Regions from separate parts of the Homo sapiens genome. Here all the other regions are linked to region 1. The links are contacts of gene promoters, found by promoter capture Hi-C in blood cells and fetal thymus (Javierre and others, 2016). All regions are on one chromosome and are shown on one strand. Each heading gives the region's core, a stretch centred on a gene start or on the middle of the fragment in contact. The rest is flanking DNA. Distances are from core to core; before and after follow the strand shown.

The links. The method cuts DNA at HindIII sites, captures the fragments that hold promoters and counts their contacts. A CHiCAGO score of 5 or more calls a contact.
Region 2: a fragment that was not itself captured here is called in contact with the fragment with the promoter of KANSL1L-AS1 in region 1 in 1 of 17 cell types (neutrophils); the score reaches 5.2 in neutrophils.
Region 3: the fragment with the promoter of PIKFYVE here is called in contact with the fragment with the promoter of KANSL1L-AS1 in region 1 in 9 of 17 cell types (M1 macrophages, M2 macrophages, total CD4 T cells and 6 more); the score reaches 9.6 in M1 macrophages.
Region 4: a fragment that was not itself captured here is called in contact with the fragment with the promoter of KANSL1L-AS1 in region 1 in 4 of 17 cell types (M2 macrophages, fetal thymus, M1 macrophages and 1 more); the score reaches 9.2 in M2 macrophages.
Region 5: a fragment that was not itself captured here is called in contact with the fragment with the promoter of KANSL1L-AS1 in region 1 in 3 of 17 cell types (M1 macrophages, M0 macrophages and M2 macrophages); the score reaches 10.2 in M1 macrophages.
Region 6: a contact is called between a fragment that was not itself captured here and the fragment with the promoter of KANSL1L-AS1 in region 1, in 2 of 17 cell types (M2 macrophages and M1 macrophages). The highest score is 7.8, in M2 macrophages.
Region 7: a fragment that was not itself captured here is called in contact with the fragment with the promoter of KANSL1L-AS1 in region 1 in 4 of 17 cell types (M2 macrophages, M0 macrophages, M1 macrophages and 1 more); the score reaches 18.4 in M2 macrophages.

The regions. Positions count from the first base shown.
Region 1 is chr2:210,028,672-210,032,305 of GRCh38, reverse strand. It overlaps KANSL1L-AS1 (KANSL1L antisense RNA 1), which reads right to left and starts at 2,384. Exons shown (of 5, transcript NR_110291.1): 1 at 2,308-2,384; 2 at 799-839; 3 at 1-143. It overlaps KANSL1L (KAT8 regulatory NSL complex subunit 1 like), which reads left to right. Exons shown (of 15, transcript NM_152519.4): 9 at 760-885; 10 at 2,388-2,503; 11 at 3,337-3,461. The HindIII fragment of the contact is 1,781 bases long and covers 1,318-3,098 here.
Region 2 is chr2:208,191,277-208,194,910 of GRCh38, reverse strand. No RefSeq gene overlaps it. Among named protein-coding and RNA genes, the nearest start is that of C2orf80, 3.1 kb to the right of the region's middle. The HindIII fragment of the contact is 3,764 bases long and covers 115-3,634 here.
Region 3 is chr2:208,264,326-208,267,959 of GRCh38, reverse strand. PIKFYVE (phosphoinositide kinase, FYVE-type zinc finger containing) reads right to left here and starts at 1,705. Exons shown (of 42, transcript NM_015040.4): 1 at 1,545-1,705. RefSeq lists a silencer at 1,419-1,688 and an enhancer at 1,819-1,868. The HindIII fragment of the contact is 8,601 bases long and covers 1-3,385 here.
Region 4 is chr2:208,297,955-208,301,588 of GRCh38, reverse strand. PIKFYVE (phosphoinositide kinase, FYVE-type zinc finger containing) reads right to left here. Exons shown (of 42, transcript NM_015040.4): 8 at 2,810-2,948; 9 at 495-652. Among named protein-coding and RNA genes, the nearest start is that of PIKFYVE, 34 kb to the right of the region's middle. The HindIII fragment of the contact is 163 bases long and covers 1,747-1,909 here.
Region 5 is chr2:208,326,155-208,329,788 of GRCh38, reverse strand. PIKFYVE (phosphoinositide kinase, FYVE-type zinc finger containing) reads right to left here. Exons shown (of 42, transcript NM_015040.4): 20 at 3,360-3,634; 21 at 1,509-1,609. Among named protein-coding and RNA genes, the nearest start is that of PIKFYVE, 62 kb to the right of the region's middle. The HindIII fragment of the contact is 2,141 bases long and covers 871-3,011 here.
Region 6 is chr2:208,342,427-208,346,060 of GRCh38, reverse strand. PIKFYVE (phosphoinositide kinase, FYVE-type zinc finger containing) reads right to left here. Exons shown (of 42, transcript NM_015040.4): 32 at 3,412-3,507; 33 at 867-950; 34 at 1-11. Among named protein-coding and RNA genes, the nearest start is that of PTH2R, 63 kb to the left of the region's middle. The HindIII fragment of the contact is 633 bases long and covers 1,606-2,238 here.
Region 7 is chr2:208,366,403-208,370,036 of GRCh38, reverse strand. It overlaps a transcript of PTH2R not described here. Among named protein-coding and RNA genes, the nearest start is that of PTH2R, 39 kb to the left of the region's middle. The HindIII fragment of the contact is 6,349 bases long and covers 1-3,634 here.

The sequences.
Region 1 (3,634 bases), core at 1,135-3,634:
ATTTGTCTATCATGTTTAGGGTCATTTGCCATCTTGAAACCAGACACTCCTTGTCAGCTGGTAGGCCATGCCCTTTATTTCAGTGTGAGTTTGGCACTTCAGCTTACATATTTCTTTTTCCACTCCTTTCCACATCTCCAAACCTTTCAAAAAAAGAAGCCAATTTGGTTGTTAGACCAAGGCTGGAAATAAGGGGGTTCAGATATACAATCATGATAACGCTAACATTTACTGCACACTTATCACATCAGACACTTTTACTTACTACTACAGGAATAAACTCATGTAATCATTATCCAAGGTCGCTGCTATTATCCCTATTTTACAGATGATGCAACTAAGGCATCAGAGATATTAAATGATTCTGGTTCTTGCTCGCACAGTCTAGTCTGACCATGTTGAATCTTACTTGGTCCCAACTTATTTCCAGATTTAAAGGTAAGCAAGAACTTAAAGATTCTGATCGCCAAGATTTATATATCTGAGCCAATCCTCACTCTATCAAGTTTCTGTAATTTGGAAGACTTTGAGAACAGATCATCTTCCCTTTTCATCCCCCTCAAAAAAATGGAGAAAATATAAGAAACTGGAAATTCCTGGGGATGTTTTTAGTTGGAGTTGTGTGTCTTGGTATTTATGTTTATCTGTAATTTTGAACTGGTATCTTAAAATTCTGCAGTTACAAATAAAAACAGATTGACATGTTCACTGTCTGTGTTAAGGAACTAAAACTTAATATTTCCTTTTCATTTGTTTTAGTACATAGTACTCTGAATCAATGGAGAAATGGATATTCACCTATATGTAAGCCTCAAATAAGGTCAGAATCTTCTGCACAACTGTTACAGGGAAGAAAGAAAAGACATTTGAGTGAAACAGCATTAGGTAGGTTAAAGTGAGGATATAAGCAGTAGTGATAAATATTAAAAATTAAAAATTCTGATTTTAAAATAACCTCTCATGGGAGTTTATAATCCAGAACAGCCACTAATAACACAAAACATCTATGAGTCTACAAACATGAAACAGCATATTCGTAGTTAATTTAGAATTATTTGTGGACTGGTATCTACCCACTTTATGGCAATTAAGTATTTCCCTCCTATGTTCCCTGACTAGTTGTCTTCTACCAATCAGTCCCTGGATGGGATTTAATCTTCAAAGTTGTGTTCTATGCTCAAAATAGGCTAGTGCAAAGTTGCCTTACAGAAACTGTTAACCATTTATGGTACCTACTGTGGAGATGTTGATGCACTGCAGATTCCTCAGGATTTTGAGAAAGTCAACAAGATTCAACTTATATATATATATAAAGCTTTAAAAACATCTAATAAGATGCAACATGAAGTATACATTACCTAAGATATAAAATGTTTCACTTAAATTGACTGACACTTTAGATCTAACTTCAAGTTTGATGTACATACAGGAATAAAATAAAGAAATGTCATACTACAAATAAATAACTAGACAATTCCAAAAGGGTAGGACATCTGGTCCAGCCTGTCAAAAGTCAATGTAATGAAAAATGATTTATTCTAGACTATAAGAAACCTAGGAGACAATGGCCAATTTTTATATATAGATCCTTATCTGAAGAAACTAGCTATAAAGGACTTTTTTTTAACAAATGGAGATATTTAAATATGGACTGGGTATTAGATTTTATATTATGCAGGAAATATTCTCATTTTAAAACACTTGTACTAAAATAAGGGCAGTAAGTAAACGCATACATATATATATTTACTACACACACACACACACACAGTAACTGGGAACCAAAACAGGAAAAAAAAAAAAAAAGAACTTGGAAGATATACAGAAAATACTAACAGAAGTAAACTTCTAATCAATATCCTGAGAGATATGAGAAATTTCATCTATGAAACAAGAACAGGATGCTGTTTTAAAAAAAGAGTACCAGAGAACAAGTACTTTCGGAAACATGTACTTATAATAGCAGAATTTTTTCAAAAAATTAAGAGTGTTCAGAAGACCAAGGACAGATACCTCACATAAATTAGGATAAAAAGTCAGATATGAAAAATGAGATTAGATAAGAAAATTAAGATAGTTCTGGTGGTTCAACTATGAATAGGAGTCACAGGAAACAAGAATAAAGGGATGAGATGAGGGATTATTCAGGGAACAATAAGAAATATATTCGATAAAAACTGCCAAAGCCCCAGAAAATGGAAATAACTTGTGGCATGACTGCAAGTAAGGCTCCTCTTTTTTCATTTCCTTTTTTGTTTTCTAATACACGAATTTAAACACACACACACAAAACAAGGAATCAATCACCTGTCATCTAATTAGGAAAGTAATTCTAATGATATTAGACTTGTTTAATGTGTAACATTCAATGGTTCTTTCCATGGCAGGAGAAAGAACTAAACTTGAAGAATCTGATTTTCAACACACAGAATCAGGATCCCATAGCAATTTTACTGCTGTTTCCAATGTCAACGTTTTATCAAGAATCCAGAATTCATCACGAGTAGGTTTTTCCATATGTTGAACTCTAAAATAGCTTTAAAAATAAAAACACCTGATTTTGAAAATAATTTATATTTTGCTAATCTATAACAGCCTTACTAGCACATATTAACAGACATTTATAACTATCTTGTTAGAAAACAATATATTTGATTCATACAACTTATTTTTAACTATGAAGCTAAAAGTTCATTAATATTTGGTTATAGCTTCTTTTTATGTGTTAAAAATTTAAACATTATCATGATCATCTCTATTCCTTAACATATTAAGCTAAATAAAGTCTTACTAATGAGAATTCAGGACTTTCTTGTTCTTGTCCTGTTTTTTGTTTGTTTGTTTGTTTTTTTGTTATCTGGCCAGGGAATAGAGAGGTCAAAAGGTGGGAGGGTTTAGAAATGAATTCCGAAACTCAGGAACCAGGAATGCATAAATGAAGAGTATACTGAAGGGCTGACCAAAAATGTTTCACTGCCTTTCCTAATAAAAAGTGGTTACTGATCATTTTCATTGACATTTAGGGTGATGTATGTTGGTCTTTTCTGATAAAGAGTTTTGCATTTAAGACCTATTTTTTGTGGTCTTAAAAATAAGCTTGTATGCTTGCACACATAAATACACATTACACATCTACCAAGAGATTGTTCTGATTTACAAAAGATAGAAAAATGTTTTATTTTTTGGTTTTCTTAACATTTTTTAGTCAGACTTTATAACAATGTATTTACAAAAATTATGTAACGTGTACTGCCATATTTACATAACTGATGAAAGGAGGGTATCATTACAAGTAACTAGACAGTACTGTAAATCTACTGTAATCCTGTTTTGCAGAATACTGCACGACGGAGATTGAGAAGTGAGAGCTCTTATGACATAGATAACATTGTGATTCCCATGTCATTAGTAGCCCCAGCTAAATTAGAGAAACTCCAATATAAGGAAATACTTACTCCAAGGTATGTATACTTACATCTTCATATTTTTCTTCCTTCCTTCCCTAATAAACTTAAATTTTCAAAGTGAAGAATTTTAATTAATGAAAGGAGCATCCTTCTCCCAGTTCCTTCATAGCCATGGAGGGGAAACGGTGAAAAAAAAATTACTCGTGCCTTAAGTGTTATATAGTATC
Region 2 (3,634 bases), core at 747-3,246, 1.8 Mb after region 1:
TTAATTTTGGGCACAGTCTATCCAGGGGTTAGACTCAAAGCATCTTTAGTTATAGAGCAGGAAGGCAGCGGCAACCTCACACATTTTTCTCATCTATATCACAAGGAATAAGCTTTAGCTTGCAGGGCCTCAGGAGGAAGGTAGTAGTGATTTTGAATTTACTCAGAAAAATGGAAGAAAAATTTGAAAACAGTTTGGGGACTTGTAACCCAGAAAGAATTTAGGAGTCAGTCCAAATTTTGAACAATAATAAAAACCCAAAAAACAATGGTCAAGACTAGAATCTAACAACACGTGTACTATAGTTTTTTGTAGTATAATTTTTTCTCTCTGAAGTCTCTCATTTTTATAAAAGATAAATCGTGGTAGGACCAATTTGTTTGCAAAATAAGTTTTAGTCTTATTATATTTTGCCTGATTTTTGCATAAAGGGCAGCAAGAATAATTATCTGCCATATAGGCTCTTTGTAAATAGGCTTTGATGGAACTTTGTTACATAAATAATCTCAGATTAGGTTTTTTAAGGTCTTGAGCCCAGCCACAGATTTATCTGTGCCAACAAACGCCTTTATGAGTTGGGTGAATTCCTCTCCTCTCGAGGTCCCAAGGTAACTTGGGGCTCCTGGGCCTGTCAGAAAGTGACATTTTTACTTACCACAAGTCAAGAACCCTGTACAGGGACTGCATAGACAAGGTGTGAGGCCAGTTTTCCCAAGGGGCTTTTATTGGCTCTATAAGTCAACTTTGACTCCTTAAAGCAGTCTGTTTATATTTGAAAGCATGCCACAGACTCCGTTTTGGGAAAAAATTCTGTTTTCCTCATGGAACCCCAGGAATTTTTTTTTTTTTTTTCTTGAGACAGAGTCTTGCTCTGTCGCCCAGGCTGGAGTGCAGTGGCACAATTTTGGCGGAATCTCGGCTCACTGCAAGCTCCGCCTCCCGGGTTCACGCCATTCTCCTGCCCCAGCCTCCTGAGTAGCTGGGACTACAGGCACCCGCCACCATGCCTGGCTAATTTTTTGTATTTTTAGTAGAGACGGGGTTTCACCGTGTTCGCCAGGATGGTCACGATCTCCTGACCTCGTGATCCGCCCGCCAAAGTGCTGGGATTACAGGCGTGAGGCACGGCGCTGGGCCGGAACCCCAGGAATTCTAAGTAGATAGATTCCTCTCAAAATCTAAGGCTTTGCTCTGTTTTGCATTGCATTATCTGATCTCTTTGACTTTTGGGTTCAAGAGAAGGGATGACAAGGTGGGTTACAAAGGACATGACTTGCCAGGCATGCTGCATGTCTGGGGCACCCACACAACAGAAGACTGCAATCAGGCTACCAAGCCAGAGGTCTCACAGCCACTTCCCCACCTGTCTAAAATAACGAACATAGGAAAGGACAGAGGAGCCAAAATCAAAGGGGAAAAAAAAGTAGCAAGTTGAAATTGGACAAAGGGAGACTCACCCACCCATCAGGTCTGAATGGTGCCAATTGGTTTTAGTCTGGGTTTCAGGGGGAGGTCTCCATTGTCCCTTCATTTGTTGTCAGAAAGGATGTCACAGGCTGAACACCAAAGGCCCTGTGATATTTGCCTTCGCACATTAAGGAATTCAAGAGCAAGCCAACAGAGTAAAGTGAAAGTAAAGGAATAAAAGGGTGGCTACTCCATAGGCAGAGCTGCTGGTTGGCTATTTTTATGTTTTTTTATGTTTTATGTTTTTGTGGGTTTTTTATGTTTATTTTTATGTTTTTTAAAAATCATATGCTAAACAAGGGATGGATTATTCATTAGTTTTTTGGGAAAGGGGTGGGCAATTCCTGGAACTGAGGGAATTCCTCCTGCTTTCAGACCATATAGGGTAACTTCCAGGCGTTGCCATGACATTTGTAAACTTTCACGGTGCTGGTGGGAGTATCTTTTAGCATATTAATATATTATAATGAGCATATAATGAGCAGTGAGGACAACTAGAGGTCATTTTCATCGCCATCTGGTTTTGGCGGGTTTTGACTGGCTTCTTTACTACATATCATTTTATCAGCCGGGTCTTTGTGATCTGTACCTTGTAAAACCAGTCCTGCCCAACTCCTGACTCACTGGCATGGCATCGGGATAGGCACACTGCCATCACTACCTCCATCAATGTGAGTCTTAGCAATGACCAGCCCCTGATAGACCACTGCACACGTGGACCTTCTATTTGCCTTCAAGGACTGAAGCTGGGAAGGTGACTATTGGGATCGATGAACACTTGGCTGAGTTGGACCAGCTGCAGCAGCCTCAGCTGGGGGCAGGGGTAAGGGAGTTAACAGGGATGAACAAGCCTAGCAAGGTCAAGGTTGAAGTTCTCCAAGGTTGCCTTTGGGTGAAAAGCTCTCTTGATCAAGAAATTGTGGAACACCTTATAATGAGGTATCAACAATAGGGAGTCAAAAAGAAAAATAACTCAGTTTATTTTCTGTTTTTTTGGTTTGTTTGTTTGTTTGTTTGTTTGTTTGTTTGTTTTTGAGACAGGGCCTCACTCTTTCACCCAGGCTGGAGTGGAGGGGTGTAATCACAGCTTACTACAGCCTCAGCCTCCTGGGTTCAAGCAATCCCCCCACCTCAGCCTGCTGAGTAGCTTGGACTGTAGGGACACACCACAATGCCCAGCTAGTTTTTATCATTTTTTGTAGAGACAGGATTTTGCCATGTTGCTCAGTCTGATCTTGAACTCTTAGGCTCAGGCAATCTACCCACCTCAGCTTCCTAAAGTGCTGGGATGACAGGCATGAGCTACCACACCCAGCCTACAGTTTAGTTTTAATTATAAACAAAATATTAGAATAAATTGAAAATGGCTGGGCGTGGTGGCTTATGCCTGTCATCCCAGCACTTTGGGAGGCCAAGGCAGATGGATCATTTGAGCCCAGGAGTTTGAGACCAGCCAGGGCAACATAGTGAGACCTCATTGCTACAAAAAAAAAAATTAATTAAAAAATAAAAAATTGTCTGGGTGCGGTGGCTCACGCCTGTAATCCCAGCACTTTGGGAGGCCGAGGCGGGCAGATCACCTGAGGTCGGGAGTTCAAGACCAGCCTCATCAACATGGAGAAACCCTGTCTCTACTAAAAATACAAAGTTAGCCGGGCGTGGTGGCGCATGCCTGTAATCCCAGCTACTCCAGAGGCTGAGGCAGGAGAATCGCTTGAATCCGGGAGGCGGAGGTTGTGGTGAGCCAAGATCACACCATTGCACTCCAGCCTGGGCAACAAGAGCAAAACTCCATCTCAAAAAAATGAATAAATAAATAAATAAATAAAAGTAAACAGTCATAGTAGAGGAGAGACTGAATTATTTTTTAATTCTCTCTATAGAAAATACTATGAAACCTTGGTCCTATTAACAGATAATCAAAGAGTATGTAAGAAAAAAAGGAATTTTAGTGTATGTTAGGCAGTTAGTAATCATGAAAATATTAATACTGATTTTTTGTTTGTGGTATTTTTCAGCTCTTTAAAATTTGTAACTTGTAATTAATAGTTCTAAATAAACATACAATTTTGTATTAGTTTCATATTTACAATTCTGCATTCTTTTTATTAAAGACGGTCCCCATAATGTATAAACTTCAGGCTCACCAAACCCGGAAGTGTCTAGG
Region 3 (3,634 bases), core at 456-2,955, 1.8 Mb after region 1:
GAAGCCAGTCAGTAAAGGCCGGACGTGGCTGCTCACACCTGTGATCCCAGCACTTTGGGAGGCCGAGGCAGGAGAATCCCTTGAGCCTGGGAGGCGGAGACTGCAGTAAGCCGAGATCACACCACTTCACTCCAGCCTGGGCGAGGGAGGGAGACCCCCGCCCGGTGGCTCACGCCTGTAATCCCAGCACCTTGGGAGGCCGAGGCGGGTGAATCGCCTGAGGTCAGGAATTCAAAACCAGCTTCGCTAACATGGTGAAACCCCGTCTCCCCTAAAAATACAAAAATTAGCCGAGTGTGGTGTCGCGCGCCTGCAATCTAGCTACTCAGGAGGCTGAGGCAGGAGAATCGCCTGAACCCTGGGAGGCGGAGGTTGCAGTCGGAGGAGATCGCGCCACTGCACTCCAACCTGGGGGACAGAGCGAGACTCTGTCTCTCAAAAAAAAAAAAAAAAAAAACTGGCAATGTAATAATTTAGGAAAGCTGAATATTGGAAATGTTAGCTTCTATCAACAAAGATTTCTTGTTCAATTTTTGACCAACACGCTTAAAGGAAAACCAGAGCAGGATCCAGAAAGCAGAAAAAGGGAGAACACAGGAAATTAGCCTTGCTCCACAGAAGAGATTTAACCTACACAATCTTTGTCACAAACACAAAAGAAAGAACATTTTTTGTAAGAAAACTGACAGAGTGGGAGTTTTGGAGTGCCAAAAAAGGGGCTCAAATAAATCAGAAATAAGTACATTATACCAAGCGACTACCTCTATTGTCAACACTGGACATATTTTACAACACAGGATGCACTGCGTCAATAGTAGATAATGAATCATGTATACACATCAGATACACACGAATAACTTGCTTTATACAGAATTCTAGCACTTCTTATATTTCTTGACTGTCTTAGGAATAACCTCTGATTGGGCAGAAAACCCCTAAGTCCTAAAAGTTTCCAACACATTCCATTCTCATCCTTTTGTTGGGAACATTCTAAGCAAAGGGTAAACACTAATTGGGAAATAATGCTCCTCCTCAAGAAACTCCAAAACCTAAGTTGAAATGGAATCGTCTCAAATAGCAGAGGCAAGCATTTAAAAAGACAAACACTTATTTGAACCCCCACGGTTGGTATCGTTTCTGCAGCTCATGAACTTTCTTTTCCAGCCTACGGATGCGCCTCTGACAAACTCAGAACTCATGCACTCAGAGGGAAAAGTAACTGTACTCTTCCCCTCCTAATTAAGTTCAGGCGTAAGGGTCGAGAGAGAGGCAAAGGAACTTCAAATGTTTCCAAGGAAATCTCAAGGGCCCCACCCGGCTTCCGTCCCCACTCGCCAGACAAGGCAGCCGGGGAATAGGGAGGACAAGCTAATTCTAAAGCCAGATTCTCTGCCCTTCCTTGCTCAGCCGGCAGCCAGGCCCTAGCCCCCGACTGCGGAGCCCTGGTTCTCACTTTCACCTCAGCTCTGGCCCTGGAGCTCCCCATACCGGCCTCCTTCCCATGCTGAGCCCCAGCCGGCCAAGCTCCAGGCCCCCTCCCTTACCTGCGCCTCCTGCCCCGGCCGCGCCGGCTGCCCCCCGCCCCAGCCTCCGCTTCAACGGCTCAGCCCCCGGAAGTCGGCCCCCGAGAGCGGCGGTGGGCTCCTCAGGCCGCGGACGGTTGCGGCAGGAAGCGAAGCTGCTTACATGGTTGATGCGGCTTCTCGCTTCCCCCCCCCAAGACTCCGCCCTCTGTTTTCCTGTCCCCCAGTCCGAAATCTTTCCCGGGGGCCGGCTCCTCCCAGCCCGGCCGACGCTCGGATCAGATGCTCAGGCAGAAGGAGTCCAGCCCAGATCGAGTCGTCCTGATCTTTTGGCCGAGATTAGGCCGCTTCAGCCTTCCTGGAAGAAGCCAGGGGGACTGCGCGCGTGAGCGTCACGCATGCGGGGTCAACGGATGGGTGCTTGGTGCTCTGGGCACTGCAGGGGTGCTGGCTGGACTGCGGTTACCGTATGTGTTCGATACTGTGGGCACTCATAATATGTTATTGCTTTGTTGTAGACAGTTCACTCGTGTAGCACTGAACCGGAGTTAGCGATGACTCTGTTTCCAGACTTGCATGACTCCACCAATAACCAGCCATATGATCTTAAGCAAATTGCTCATTTATTTAGGCCTTAGACCTCTGGTGTGTAAAGTCGGATTAATAAAAGGACTCACTTCTTAATACTTTTTTGAGATTAAGTAAATGCACTTAAAGCGAATGGCACAGTTCCCTGACCCAGAGTAAGTGATGTCGGCTTTATAGTTAATTTTTTCATTTAGGTGTTGTGTTGCAAATGCTGATGCAAATAAAGTTACCAAGCCCAAGCCCTATCTTGTTCAGCTTGGCTAGAGTTATTCGTCATTTCTGTCCTGCTGAGAGCGCAGTGCAGTTAACTGCAGAAAACATGCTCGCCGCAGTTGTGGGGCTTGGTAGGGGAGGATGGAAAGCAGACGAAACCTAAAGGGAAATGCAGTTTTAAATTCTGTGAGTCCTTTTCCTCAAGAGTTTTGTCAAATCCCAGCCCAGTTTTCCTGGAGTTGGAAAGCACCATCGAAACCTGCAGGTTGAGTCCAGTGCAAATCCCAGTCACCATCCTCAGCTGGGCCCTTCAGCAATCTTTCTGGGAGTCTGTAGTCAGCTTCTCCCATTCCTTATTACTGCTGCGTCAGACCACCACCACGACCCCCACATTACCTTGACCATCATTCTCATCAGAGAATCATATTTTATACCCACGTGAAAAATCCCAAGGTATCTGGGCGTGACCCTTAACAAGCTAATTCCCCACACACCACAACATTTACCTACATCCACATCTGCCCTGGTCTGCCTTTCTCCCTCATCTCTCTGAGGAAGGGGCCTCTTCTTCCCCAGCTCAATCCTTTTGGCCCCCAATTCACCCTCTCCTGTCTGGGAGCTTGCACCGTATCTGCAACCTCCCCTTTTCCAATGACTCTGCCTCCTCAGCCCATAAAGATGCTCAAGTCTCTGCCTTCCTTTAAAAAAATTTTTTTTAAAAATTTAAGATAAGCAAAAAAGGCCCTCGTAATTATCACCCTATGTTAATATTTCATAAACCTACAATAAAGTATGAAATAGGTACAGAGATCATATGAAAAGAATAAATTGCCCAGCCACGACGACTGCAGTGTATGTAGAAACTCCATCTATGGTTTAAAAAAAAAAAAAAAAAGTGCACTCCGCAAATATTTTTGAGTCCCTAATTTAACCTGCAGTGTGTTAGTTATAGAAGCACTACACTAAGGATAGAATTATGAACGTATCCCACTGCTTCACTTGACTAGCCTAAAAAATAAAAATATATGTGAACATTACACAGTCCATGTCCTCAAGAAGCTTACCGTCTAATATCTATATTAGCTTACAGTTTAATTTCTGTGGAAAAGAGATTGAAAACTGGGCTACTGTTTTTGCAAAAGAAATCATTTTAGATTCTCACTTCACACTAGACATCCAAAATTAATTCCAGATGAATTTTATCTGTAGAGAGATTATTTGTCTGTGTATATATCCTCCTCAAAAACTTTCATTCAAGCACAGATTTAGGATTCTTGCTGAATCAATTATTGTTCGATGATATTATACTT
Region 4 (3,634 bases), core at 579-3,078, 1.7 Mb after region 1:
TTCCCATGAGAGGAGGAGTAGCTAATCTGAGAAAATAGTAAAAGCTAGGGGATACATGTATTTGAAAAGCAGGACCTGTCTGTTACTCTTTTTTATAAATGATTTGTGAGGCAAGCTAGGACCCGACAGGCATAGCTTATGGATCAAATACTCAACACAGGTTACAACCTGTCTAGATTAGTGAACAGTAGCTGGGGAATTCTTTGGCCTTAGGTTCCAGCTACCTTCTCTAATCCTCCTTTGCTAGAGAGTTCTTCTGCTTTTAATAAGGTAAATTAAGATCCTATTTGGCTCCTTGTACTCCTTGCATCTGTTCTCTGCTGGTTAAAACTCAGATTGGAGGAGGGTTAAGTAATTAGCACCCTAAACCATCAATTACATAAAACAAAGAGCACCCTAACTCTACAAAGAAATCTGTAACTCTTACTATCTTCAAATATGTTTTCTCATTCAAAATAAACAAATAATATTGAAACCTTCTAAGATCAGAATACCTTGTGGCAATATGCCCATTTCGGATTAGCCAGTTGACTAATTCCTTTCCTACAATGCAGTTGGGATGCGTTCTCAACCAGTAGCGGTGATCCTGAAACTCCATTCCACTGCTGTGATGGCAGATTTTTTTCCACAGGTCTTTTAACTGCACACTGTCCTGCAATCACATTAACAGCAAGTAGTTACCCTTGAGAAAAATGCTATATACCTTTTCAGATGTTTTCCTGTGATTTTTAGACTCATAAAAGGAAACCTAACTTGGATTTCTTTATGGTAGCTAACTCACACAATTTAATACAAATGTCATATACGTGGGAACAGCTTGAACTCTGCTCATCTAATTCCAAACATAACTTTTTCTCTTGAAAACCAACTATTCCAAATACTTCTTTTTTCAGTCAATGGCACATATTATCAATCTCCTATTTATGTATTCTTCTTTGGAGATGGGGCAAGGCAGAGGGAGACAACAGTTAATCACACTAACCTAAGGTAACTGTTCCTAGAGGCTTTCACTCCACCAGATTCTCACTGTGTACCCAACTGACAGATGAGTTTTTTAAAAAGAAGAGCTTCAGTAAATTACTCCCTGCTCAAAAAAATTCTGAATGTTCCTCAGCAACTAAAGTTTCAAATCTACACCTGTAAGTACAGAATTCATTGCCTTCCACCAGGTAGTCCCAAATAACTTTCCTTTCTCATTGCCCCCAGACTCCTACTTAAACTCTCTCCCAATTAAAAAATCCTACTTCTGGCCATGGAAAATGTCATGCTTATTCTTACCTCTGTATCTTTCTTCACACCTTTAAATAAGATTCACCTTCCTCACTGCCTATCCAAAATGATTCCATCTCTCAAGGTCCAGTTCAAGTCCTTCAGTTTAAGCCTTTTTCTGATTCCCTCATTAGTAATGAGCTTTCTGTTTTTTTGAATTCTTACATGACATATAGTCATTTATTTATTTGACACTTTTTTATTATTAAAGTATTACTACTTCCACTATTAAGGATCTTCCCACTGATCTTATTTCTACCTTTTGTGGGTTTGCTGGTTTGTTTGTTGTCTTAGAGACAAGGTCTTGCTATGTTGCCCAGGCTGGAGTGCAGTGGCTATTCACAGCCATGATCACAGCACCCTACAGCCTCAAACCCCTGGCCTCAAGAGTCCTCTCACCCTAGCCTCCCAAGTAGCTGGGACTACACGTGCATGCCACCACACCTGGCTCTTATTTCTACTTTTGAATTATAAGCTTGAGGACACAGCCATACCTTCCATTTCTCTGAGTCACTCTTAGAATTGAACACAGTATTTTATGCACAGATAAATTCAATAAGCAACTGATTATTTCATATAAACATATAGTATTAAATGTCTGAAAAGTGTTACATGTGTATAACAAACATGCTTCAAAGCTTAAATAGCAATATGGGATCTAAGAGTTAAGCTCTCTTATTACATAGGTAACTGAATTCTGATTTTACCAGATAAAAGGGTAAAGAAAATACTGGCCAGGCGCGGTGGCTCACGCCTGTAATCCCAGCACTTTGTGAGGCCAAGGCAGGGAGATCACGAGGTCAGGAGATTGAGACCATCCTGACCAACACTGTGAAACCCCGTCTCTACTAAAAATACAAAAATTAGCTCAGTGTGGTGGCACATGCCTGTAGTCCCAGCTACTCAGGAGGCTGAGGCAGGAGAATCGCTGGAACCTGGGAGGCGGAGGTTGCAGTGAGCCGAGATTGCGCCACTGCACTCCAGCCTGGTGACAGAGCGAGACTCCATCTCCAAAAAAAATAATAATAATAAAGAAAGAAAGAAAAGAAAATATTAATGCAATGAGTATAGAATACTTGACCCATCTCTCAGGTGATCCTAGTAAAACTGAAGCTAAGCACTTCTGTTTAACTGATATGCTATTTCACTTATATATTTCTTATTAAAAAGACTCAGTGACAGGCTGGGTGCAGTGGCTCACACCTGTAATCCCAGCACTCTGGGAGCCAAGGCGGGCAGATCACTTGAGGTCAGGAGTTTGAGACCAGCCTAGCCAACAGGGCGAAACCATGTCTCTACTAAAAATACAAAAAATTAGGTGTAGTGGCATGCGCCTGTAATCCCAGCTACTCAGGAGACTAAGGCACCAGAATCGCTTGAATCTGAGAGGCAGAGGTTGCAGGGAGCCAAGATCACACCACTGCACCCCAGCCTGGGCAGCACACCAAGACCGTGTCTCAAAAAGAAAAAAAAAGACTCAGTCACATGAACATTCTCTATGCTCAAAACTAGCAATGGGTCAAAGATACTGGACCAGTACCAGAAGAATTTTGCGTTCATCCTCAGTGGTCTCTGTCCTAACATATGTTCGGTTAGCCTGGGGACTGACAGATGTCTCATATGAAGGTACCATAGGAGAACCAGATCTATCCAGTGACAGGTTAGTAATGCTGGCTGATCTGGAAATAAAAACAAGAAGTGAAATCACAGGTGTAAATTCTTCTTCAATAAACAGAATTACAGAGAAAATTCATTTTTAAATAAATGCTTATTTACCAATGTTAAGGGTACTTTTAAAAGTACTTATGATGGTTATGCATGATATTATCATTGGGAGAAATTTGGTAAAGGATACCCAGAAACTCTCTGTACGATATTTGCAACCCTATGTAAGTCTATATTTTGCAATTCTATGTGTGTCTAAAATTACTTGGAAATAAGTTTAAAAGAAAGTAGTTATGGAAAGATTACAGGAAAACAATTACATAGTTCATATATCAGTAATATTTCAAAGGGAATAGATACAAAGTCTTCTTGTTAAAATGCTGTAAGTTAGTGGATTTTTTTTTTAATAACAAATATAAAGAATGAAATTAAATGCAGAAATAATCTTGCAGATCAGAGTCAGGAAACTATGGCCCACAGGCCAAATCTAGCCTTCTTCCTCTTTCTGTATAGCCCATGAACTAAGAAGGTTTTATAGTTAAATATCTGCAATGCAATCAATCTGATGAAGGGAACACCAATTTTGACGCCCAAATAAGCAAAATGTTATGACCAAAAAAAGAATTCCTTTCTTCTCACTAGTAGACCTATATTTAAAATATTGTCCTCAAATATTATTACATTATGCTATTTTGTCAGT
Region 5 (3,634 bases), core at 692-3,191, 1.7 Mb after region 1:
TTTCATGAGACCACAAATTATGATTACCTATTAAATGTATGGTACTTACAATGAAGTATGAAAGGAGGTAATGTTCTTTGTTGTTATGAAACAGGTTTTAATAAAACAAGTTTAGACTTGCCACACTAAAGCATCTTTTTCACTCCCAATCCACTAGTGTCTTATGAAACTAATGAGGATGCATAAACTATAATATTAATTTAGTAAAACTGATCTGAGTTAAGAAGAGGTAAAGGTTTCCTTTACAAAGGCTTAAGCCCTGTCAGCACAAGGTGGGACTCTGGTCTCCTACTCTCTTGTCCATGCCTTTACTGAGCATGGAAAACAGCAGTTCTTGCTAAAGTGCCAGTTTCTAACTTTTTATCTAACCTATAAATGCTCACAAGACAGTTTGGCTATATAACTGTTGAAATCCACATCTTATTCAAGCCTTGACCTATATATAAACTCCCAGAGATAATTCCCATGGGTTCTGCCACTCCCAAGTCTTCCTGCTGAAGCTATACTACTAGAAGAACCCATGAGCTCACTGCTGGAAATAAGTGTTTCAGTTATCCAAAATTAAAACACAGAATATGTTCTGGCATGGAGACAGTGCCCCCAAACAAGAAGTTATGTTCCATAGTACTTTTAAAACTAAAGGTGAACATGTAATGTAAGGCTATGTATGTCTGTGTGAGGTTTTTGTGACAATAATTTGAAAAAAATAATTTAAAACATAAAATGTATTTCAGTTTCTATCAATCTACTTAAGTTTTAGACTAAAACCCATTAATAAAGCAAAAGGTTGACTGCTTTTATAAAAATTATGCCTGAAGGAAAACCTGCCTAAATTGTACATGCTATCATCAAAATGCTTATAAACAAGCTTTTTGTGTGTCAACTTTCTCACATTTTTAAGTACAGGTTGGGCATCCCTAATCTGAAAATCCAAAATCCAAAATGCTCCAAAATCTGAAACTTTTGAGTCCTGATATGGTACCACAAGAGGGAAATTCCACAACTGAAACCTTTGCTTTCTGGTGGTTCAATGTATACAAACTTTGTTTTATACATAAAATTATTACAAATCTTATATAAAATTAACTTCAGGCTACGTGTACAAGGTGTATATGAAACACAAATGAATTTCATGTTTAGACTTGGGTCCCATCCCCAAGATAACTCATTAAGTATATGCAAGTATTTCCAAATTTGAAAAAATATTAAATCCAAAACACTTCTGGTCCCAAGCATTTCAGATAAGGGAAAGTCAACCAATACAAATTCCTCTTCTATCCCTCACACTTTTTTCACTCTTAATATACTCTCATTTACTTCTACTCATGAACAAACATGTATTTTCATATTTACTTCACAAGTTTAAAAGTTCTATCAATTCATATATGACCAGCAGTGTGCTGTGTACCTAAATACAGGTCCTAATGACTGTTTTTTTGTTTTTGTTTTTTTTTAATTGCTGGAATTCTGTTCTTATGTGGAATAGTGTAGGGGGAAAAGAATCCTACCAAGGACTGACACAGGCACTAGGAGCATTGCTGGACTGGGCAGAAGAGCTGCTGAAGAGCACACAAAGTCTCTGGTGATTAATGGGATTCAGACAGTCCACCTGAAATAGAAGGAATGAATGGATGAGCAAGTGACTGCAACCGCATTCAACCCCAATGCACCAAACACACTCCACTCTATTTGTAAAGCCTCCAATTATCACTGTGGGGGCTCTGGTCAAGATTTAAAACTACAGAAAACTAAATATAAGGAAGGGCAGTTGGTTTTTGAGAAAAGACAACCCAAAAAGTTTCAATTAAACTTAAAAATACAAAACAATGTCTAGATAGCTTGTTTTCTTAACTTACTCTTTATTTTACACAACTGCACTAAATTATTTTGGAAAAAAATTAATTAAATATACCCATATTTAACAGTCTGAACTGATGGGATATAACATCAATCTGAGACACCCAGAAATCTAAATTCTAAAGTGTTTATTTATCTATGCTTATGGCTGTTTTTGATCATTACAAAGGTAAAACCAGCTCTCTGTTAAAATTGAAACAGTATAGAAGCATATGAAGAAGTTCATAAAATACACAAAACTGCTCCTCCTGATTCTACTCCACCTCCTAAGCTGCGGAGTTTGACTCTGTGGTTTTAAAATATCTATTCTTTTTGCTAGTTTACATACCTGTCCCACATACACACATCACTTCCTAAGTACAAACAGGGGGTTTTGTTTTTATAAATATGGAATAATGCAACACATATTAAAACATAATTTGCTTTTTAACACTTCAAATATATCATGGGCTTTATCCAAGTCATTAAATGACTTGAGATCCTGCTCATCCTTAAACTGTTTCAATAAACATCTTTGTACATATATTCTTAAAAAATGCAAGCACCCTTATATAAGCATACTTAATTATTTCTGCAGGATAGATTATAAAAAGTTGGAGTCCTGGGTCAAAGGTATATACATGTATGTGTAAATTAATGGAGACTTTCCTATCACTTTCTATAAATTTATACAAATGTACATATACCTACATTTGTATAAACTTACATAAAATTTATGAAAGGTGTTTTTCCATGCCATCATTAACCATGGGTCTTTTACGACTTTCCTTTTTGTCAATCTGACAAATAAAAAATTATTTAGCACCACTATTATTTAGCACTTCCTTGACTACTAGTGAAATTGAACATACATTATTTAGCACTTCCTTGACTACTGGCGAAATTGGACATCTTCTCGTTTTATTAAACAATTGCATTTCCTCATCTAGCAATGGATTTGTTAATTAGTTTTATTGCTACCATTATCAATAATGGATCTATAAACCTTCCTTAATTTGCTCTCAATTTATGCCTAAAAAGAAAAAGATCACTGTCATAGTTAAATAACAAGGTAAAATGTTTTATGTTAAAAAAAGAGCTAACTTTTTTTGAGAAAACAAATATATTTGCTGCTAACTTTTTTAAAAAAACACATCTATTTCCTACAATAAGCTTCCATCTCTCACTCCCTGACACAAGGATCCAGGATTATCATACCACATCCAAGTCATGTTGTCAGAAATTTTAAGCAGCTCCACATTTCCCCTTACTTCAGGGATCTTCCTAGCTTATTATAAGCTCACCTTAAAACCCTGAAACCCAGTTTCATTACAATTCTGCTTCATACATATTAAAGTAACACATAAGCCAGCAGACTCAAGACAAAAACAAAAATAGCATAGGAGAAGAAATATTTCACAAATCTGCATGCAGTCTGCCAAACTGATTTTTTTAGCCTGCCTTTGAGGAGTCATTCAACACATCCTAAATGCACAGGAGCATCAGAAAGTGGTCTGGCTCACCTTTGTTGACCACACAGCATCACTCAGAATAAGCCCTCTCTCTTCATCACCCTCATTTTTGCTTCCTGATTGGCCACTTGAAGTACTTGATGCATCCTTTGAATGAGCAAAAGGGTCTGAATTTTTGGGCTGAATTCTTCCTCCTCTGGCTCGATAATCGGCCAGCATTCTACCCAAGCTCTGGCTATCGCCCAGATGCTCAGCAATTCTAGTGCTCACTAGCTCATGTGAGGGTAAGACTTGAATAGACTTGGCCTGAATACTTCCATTCATGC
Region 6 (3,634 bases), core at 673-3,172, 1.7 Mb after region 1:
TATCTGAAGTACTAAAATGAAAAGAAAAAAAAAGAAAAATTTAGTTTTATACAAGTCAAACAGAAAATAGTAAGTACTCTACACTAATTACGCTGTACACTGATTTACTTCCTACCTAAGCCCACCTACAATATCAAAAGTCTGATTCATAATTTACATAAACACAGGCTAGAACACAGAAAAAAAAGTCTGAAATATCTACTGGACTTAAAGTGAAATGCTGTAACTATAAAAATGTATGGAGGAATACATTATGTTTCCCAAGTCCATTAACACTATATCAGCACCCATAAATCAAACAACTACAGAAAATATCAATTCCTTTCTCTCACACTAGTTATCACAATGACAATTCAGATAAAACTATAATGTTAGTAGAGATGGAAACTCTATTTCAGTAAGAATCACAATAATGAGCATGTGACAATTTCTGTCTAAAAGTCTAAAATACTGAACTTGCCAAAATAACTGGTTTGGGTTTGGTTTTTGAAGTATTAGGACCTTTATTTATTATAAACAATTCACAGATACTTTGAATTGCCAAGTCAAGCAGGAGCTTACCAATTTTACAAGTTATTATTTTTTAAATAAAAACACCTTTTCATTTTTTTCAAAAATGTCCTTAAATCTGCAATATACATTTAACTGCTATTGCAATTATCATAAAACTGCATCCTGAGGGACTGTTTAAGTTCTTTTGCTATATTTGAGCTTTGTTGTCTCAATTATTGGCTGAAATATGAGTGCCACTATCTGAATCCTAGAAATTTTTATGATGATAAATGCTGTAATAAAACTGAAGTACAAGCATATAGAAAATGATAACATAACTAAATTAAAATAGTTTCTACTCAATCATGAATCACCTATTTGTTGGAAGCCCTTCTTCGGCACTGTTCCACTGAGTCGCTTTAGACAATTCCTCTAAGGCATTTCGGTATTCTTTACAACTTAGGGCAGAAATAGGTTGAAAAACGTTAAACATTAACTTCTTCTTTAAAAGTAAATCATAAGCTTTAGAGTAAGTTTTGCATTATAGAAGCACAATCATTATACGTTTCCATAATTAAATAATTTTGGTTAACTGACAAAAGCAATCAAGTAGAAGCTTCATGAGGAAGGTCAATGTCTTCATAGAAGGTAATACAAAATATGACCCACTGACTCATCAACCAGTATCAATACCCTCAACAAAGATTTTAAAAGCCTACTTACTAATATTTAGATCAAATGACTTCAGGGATTGAACAGGTAAAAGTTTGAAGCCTCAGTGTTGAGTACAATAGAGAAAAAAAGAACTTGAGAGTGCTTTTCTACTTAACATACTAAACTTTAAGGGGAAAAAAATGTTTAATGTTCTATTAACCAAAAAGAAAAAAAAAAAACCTGACTCTTAGGTTAGCAGTTTAGGAACCCTGCTTTAGATAAATGTCATGCAACAAGAGAGGCATGTTAGGATGTATTGTTTTTCTAAGACATTGAAAAAAGATGATCTCAGCTAGAATCCTTACTTCCTAATAGTACAAAAAATACTTTTGATTTGGTTGACTCTCTTACCTTTCTTACCTATTAATATATTATGACTATTAAATAAAGTGAGAAGCTTATATTATGTTCACAAAGGCCAAAGGCAAAGGCTAAAAATGTTATCATATGGAATCTTATAAAGGAAAAAAATTCCTCATTATCTACACAGTAAACTCTAAACTGCATAAAGGCAGAGGCATGTAAATCTATCTTATTTACTCCTGTACATCCAATATCTAGTATATCACATTTTGTAAACATTCAAATATTTGTTGAATAAATGGACTCCCTGGAACCACCATCTAACAAGAAAAATTAAAAACTGTAATGCCTTCCAGTGGGAAAAAATTGCTTTAAACATCTTAGATTCTATTTAAACTAAGTTCAGCTACCACCAAGATGTTCTTAAGATTTAAGGCTGGGTGCGGTGGCTCACGCCTGTAAGCCCGGCACTTTGGGAGGCCGAGGCGGGTGGATCACGAGGTCAGGAGATGGAGACCATCCCGGCCAACATGGTGAAATCCTGTCTCTACTTAAAATACAAAAAAAATTAGCCGGGCATGGTGGCGGGCTACTTGGGAGGCTGAGGCAGGAGAACGGCGTGAAACCCGGAGGCGGAGCTTGCAGTGAGCCGAGATCACACCACTGCACTCCAGCCTGGGCAACTGAGAAAGACTCTGTCTCAAAAAAAAAAAAAAAAGTTTAAAAGCTTTGCCCTTTTAGACATACTATATATTTTTACAGTGGATATAGCTTTAAGATATATGATAACTGTATAAACTAAAAAGTCAGAAATGTCTACGGAATAAGGCATAAGAACAGCATTGCAGTAGTCCCTCCTCATCCATAGTTTCACTTTCCATGGTTTCAATTACCCACAGTCAACTGCAGTCCAAAAACATTAACATATTTAGAAAGAGAGACAGCACATTCACATAACTTTTGTTGTAGTATATTATTATAAAACTGTCCTATCTTATTGTTGTTGTTCATCTCTTACTGTGGCTAGGCTAATTTATAAATTTAACTTTATCATAGGTATGTATGTACAGGAAAAAACATAGCATTTATAGGGTTCAGTACTATCTGTAGGTTCGGACATCCACAGGGGTTCTTAGAACATATCCTCAATGGGTAAGAGGTGACTGCTGTTTTCTAAGTAGAAAAATTTTACCTCGTATGTAGGGTAGTAGAAAATGAGTGAATGGTACAAAAAAGATATTCAGATTGTACAAGGCAGGATGCTCCAAGTACTATGTCAACAAGTAAACTGAGAGAAGGGATACAAGGGAAAACATATTTTAACAGAATGGATAGAGGATTCAAGGCTCAGTAAATAACTTGCCAAGTCAATTTAGTTATTAGGAGCTTACTTAGGAATCATCCTATACTTCATTATTTGGGTTCAGAGAAGATTTTTATGCACAAAAAGAACAAGCTGCCAGGCATGGTGGCTCACGCCTGTAATTCCAGCACTTTGGGAGGCCGAGGTGGGTGGATCACCTGAGGTCAGGAGTTCAAGACCAGCCCAACCATTATGGTGAAACCCCATCTCTACTAAAAATACAAAAATTAGCTGGGCATGGTGGTGTGTGTCTGTAGTCCCAGCTACTCGGGAGGCTGAGGCAGGAGAACTGCTTGAACCCAGGAGGCAGAGGTTGCAGTGAGCCGAGATTGCACCACTGCACTCCAGCCTGGGCAACAGAGTGACATTCTGTCTCAAAAAAAAAAAAAAAAAAGAACAAGCTATCACGACTAAAGAACATATATTTTTGCTTATATTTAATCATTTTGCTTTATGTGAAAGATTCCAAAAATAAGGGATTAATAGACATACATAAAATACATAGATATCATCATAAGTCAAAGTCCCATGAATAATACCTGAGAGCAAAAGCAATGATGGAGCTGGGTTCCTTCTCGCAGACTGCAATGGGCACTCGTTCATGTTCATACATTAAGTAGTGTTTATCTGGATCACTATGCAAATTTTTAAAATACATAAGTTAACTAAGTACTCTAGAGTTAAGAATATAATTAAGAAAGCCAAAATGTATGCAGATATGATAACCTGAATCATTAGGAAAGAAAAAGATTTCAAGAGAAA
Region 7 (3,634 bases), core at 354-2,853, 1.7 Mb after region 1:
ATTTTGGAGTGCAACAGAGGCTACACTGCTAACTTGTAAATGGCAGGCTTCCCAGTCTGTATAGTGGCACCAGATGCTTGTTCATTACTTTGGAATGCTTAGGATTGTTCTTTCTACATCGTACATTGCCAGGCTTTGGAAAAGCATTCTCATTACTGAGAACTTAGGGTTGCAATACATAAGTGCGTTGTCTATGATGTCTCATCAGGTGCATCTACATGGCATTAATTTATATATAAAAGAACCCCAGTTGTAATGTGGCTAGCATTCAAAGTGGGATATCTGGTAAGGGAAGGCACCAGATATCCAACTTCACATTTCTCTGACCACTTAGGTGGGAACCTTTTATATATCTTATTGCTACATAAAAATGAGACCAGGCCAGGCACAGTGGCTCACGCTTGTAATCCCAGCACTTTGGGAGGCCGAGGCTGGCGGATCACTTGAGGTGAAGACCAGCCTGGCCAACATGGAGAAATCCTGTCTCTACTAAAACTACAAAAATAAGCCGGGCATGGTGGTGGGCACCTGTACTCCCAGCTACTCGGGAGACTGAGGCAGGAGAATCGCTTGAACCGGAAGGTGGAGGGTGCAGTGAGCTGAGATTGTGCCACTGCCCTCCAGCCTGGGTAACAGAGTGAGATTCCTTCTAAAAAAAAAAAAAAAGAGAGAGAGACCAGTGTTGTTTACAGACAAGGTCATAGTGGTGGAACCTGTGAACAACCAAGTTGGAATTCTGTGTCTTTCACAACCCTTATCATCAATCATGTTGGCATCTGCACATCTTCACTTCCAATGTGCTTCTGTTAGGCTATGAGGGTAAAACAGGTTGTGAAACACCTGGCAGAGAAACCCTTTAATTTAGCCTTGGTTACTATAGAAATGTATTTTATTTATTGACCAAGTTAAGGTCCATCCATCCAACTATAGTCATGGGTGCTGGTCAAGCCAACTAGGGGAACACTTGAGCTATTCCATATCCCACTACTTTTTCCTACAAACCAGGAATATTATCCTGTAATCTGACATTCACTCACATTGAAATACTTAGTTATAATCCAAGTAACAATGACAGTGGAGGGTTGTTTAGTGCCATCTGTGAAGCCAAATCACAGAATTTGATTGCAATACATTTTTGAAATGTTACCCAGAAAAGGTCCAGTACTGTATTTATTTTCAATGTAGAGAGATTTCCTTCCAATAGTCTTACTTGGGTAAAGCACTGACCTTGAGCTTCCATGGAGGCTTCCCAGTGCCAAATTAATCTACCAGAGGAGGAGACAGAGTGACTTTGTCTTCCTGCTTATGGATACCATATGCTTTTATATATCCATTGTCCAGAATGGGTTCACCAGGTATATTTACATTGGTAGGAACAAAAACTCTTCTGCATTATGTAGATGTTAACCTAACCAGTAACCAGATTAACTATTTAAGGTGGCCAGGCTTTGAAAGATTGGAACAAGCAGGTGTTGGGGTAGTGCCAGAATTGTCAAAAAACAAAAAACAAAAACAAAAAAAAAACAGTTAAGGGTTAGTTGAGGCAAGATCCACTTTGAAAGGGATACCAATGTAGAGGAACAGCATGGAGAACAGAGAGGTGAATGGTGGGGCAGTATAAGAATACTTGCTTTGTCAATTAGGATGGCAGCTAAGTCTATTGCATATAAGCATGGAGGAATGCCTGATGCTACTTAACATGAGAAAGGTACTGTGGGACATATCTAGGTTGACATGAGAAATATGTTATGGGACAAAAAGATTGTCCTAAGATACCCACAACAATCCCATCATTTTCACAGTAATATAGGTAAAAAAGATTGTCAAAGTTGGGTAGTCGAAGGGCTGGGGTGTGGACAATGCTTCCAAGGAGGCTGGTGCCTCAGAGTACCAGGTAAAGTGCTCTGTGGTTGTATCTAAGAGGACAGCATATAAAGGTTAGACATGGGCAGCAAAATTGGGAATCCATTGGCAATATCCAGTTGCTCCTAAAAATTCACGTAATTGTTTGTCTTTGAGAGATAATGAATAAAATTGATTCAAGGCATTTTGGGACGAGTTTTTGAGTACCCTAAAATATTTTATGGCCTAAGTAGGTAAGAATTTTTTGTACCTGTTGGCATTTGGACCTGGAAGATTTATAACCTTAGTCAGTCAGTGCCTTAAGGTGAGTAAGGGAGTCCAGAAGAGCACCCTGTTTGCTTTGGTTGCAAAGTAGCAGGTCATCAACATATTGGAAACAAAGGGAACCTTGAGTGATTGTCATAGAGTCTAATTTGACTTTGAGAACTTAGAAAAATATTGAGAGGTATTCACAATATCCTGGAGGTATGCAAGTCCATGTTAACTGTTTCTTCTTAAATTTGAGGCTGGGCACAGTGGCTCATGCCTGTAATCCTAGCACTTTGGGAGGCCAAGGCAGGCAGATCACCTGAGGTCAGGAGTTCAAGATCAGCCTGGCCAATATGGTGAAAACCCATCTCTACTAAAAACACAAAAATTAGCCAGAAATCGCTTGAGTCTGGGAGGCGGAGGTTGCAGTGAGCCGAGATTGTGCCACTGCACTTCAGCCTGGGTGACAGTGACTCTGTCTCAAAAAAAAAAAAAAAAAAGAAAGAGAAAAAAATAAAAACTTTAGCTGAATTAAATTTGAAGGAGTGAAGCCAGGTGCAGTGGCTCACATCTGTAATCTCAGCACTTTGGGAGGCTGAGGTCAGGAGTTCGAGACCAGCCTGGCCAACATGGCGAAACCCTGTCTCTACTAAAAATAGAAAAATTAGCTGGGCATGGTGGCATGTGCCTGTAATCTCAGCTACTCAGGAGGCTGAGGCAGGAGAATCGCTTGAACCCAGGAGGCAGAGGCTGCAGTGAGCAGAGACTGCACCATTGCACTCCAACTTGGGCAACAAGGGTGAAACTCAATCTCAAAAAAAAAAAAAATTAAAGAAGTTTAATTGAGCCATGAATGATTCAAAATCAGGCAGCCTCCTGAGCCAGAATAGACTCTGAGACTCCAGCACACCTACGCCATGGAAGATGATTTATGGACAGAAAAAGGAAAGTGACATACAGAAAACAGAAGTGAGGTACAGAAACAGTTGGCTTGGTTACAGCTGAGCATTTCCCTTATTTGAATACAGTTCAAACAGTTGGCTACATTTGATTGGCCAAAACTTGGTAAATGGCACAAGTGTAAGCTACGGTCTGGTTATATTCCACTTGTTACAGTTCACGATGTACAGAAAAACCTTTAAGCCGAACTTAAAATATGTAAGAAAGCAGCTTCATGCTAAACTTTATTTCACAAGAGGAAGTGTGAATCAAGGTACAATGGTATCAAGAAGAAAGCTGAGCAGAAGTCCTTACCTCAATGCAGTACAGCACATTAACAGAATAAACCAGGCTGCACCAGCAGGGATTGAGGTAAGGATGATGGCTGGGCTAAGAATTATGGGATGGTGAGGAATGACATAGGAGTTCATGGCTATTAGATCTTGTACAAATTGAAAAGTATGATTACCTCCTGAATCAAATTTCCCTTCTTTCTTTACTAGCAAGACAAGGGTATTGCAAGGTGAGAAGGTAAAAATAAGGACACCCCATTATAAAAGGGGGGCCTATTATAGTTTCAATT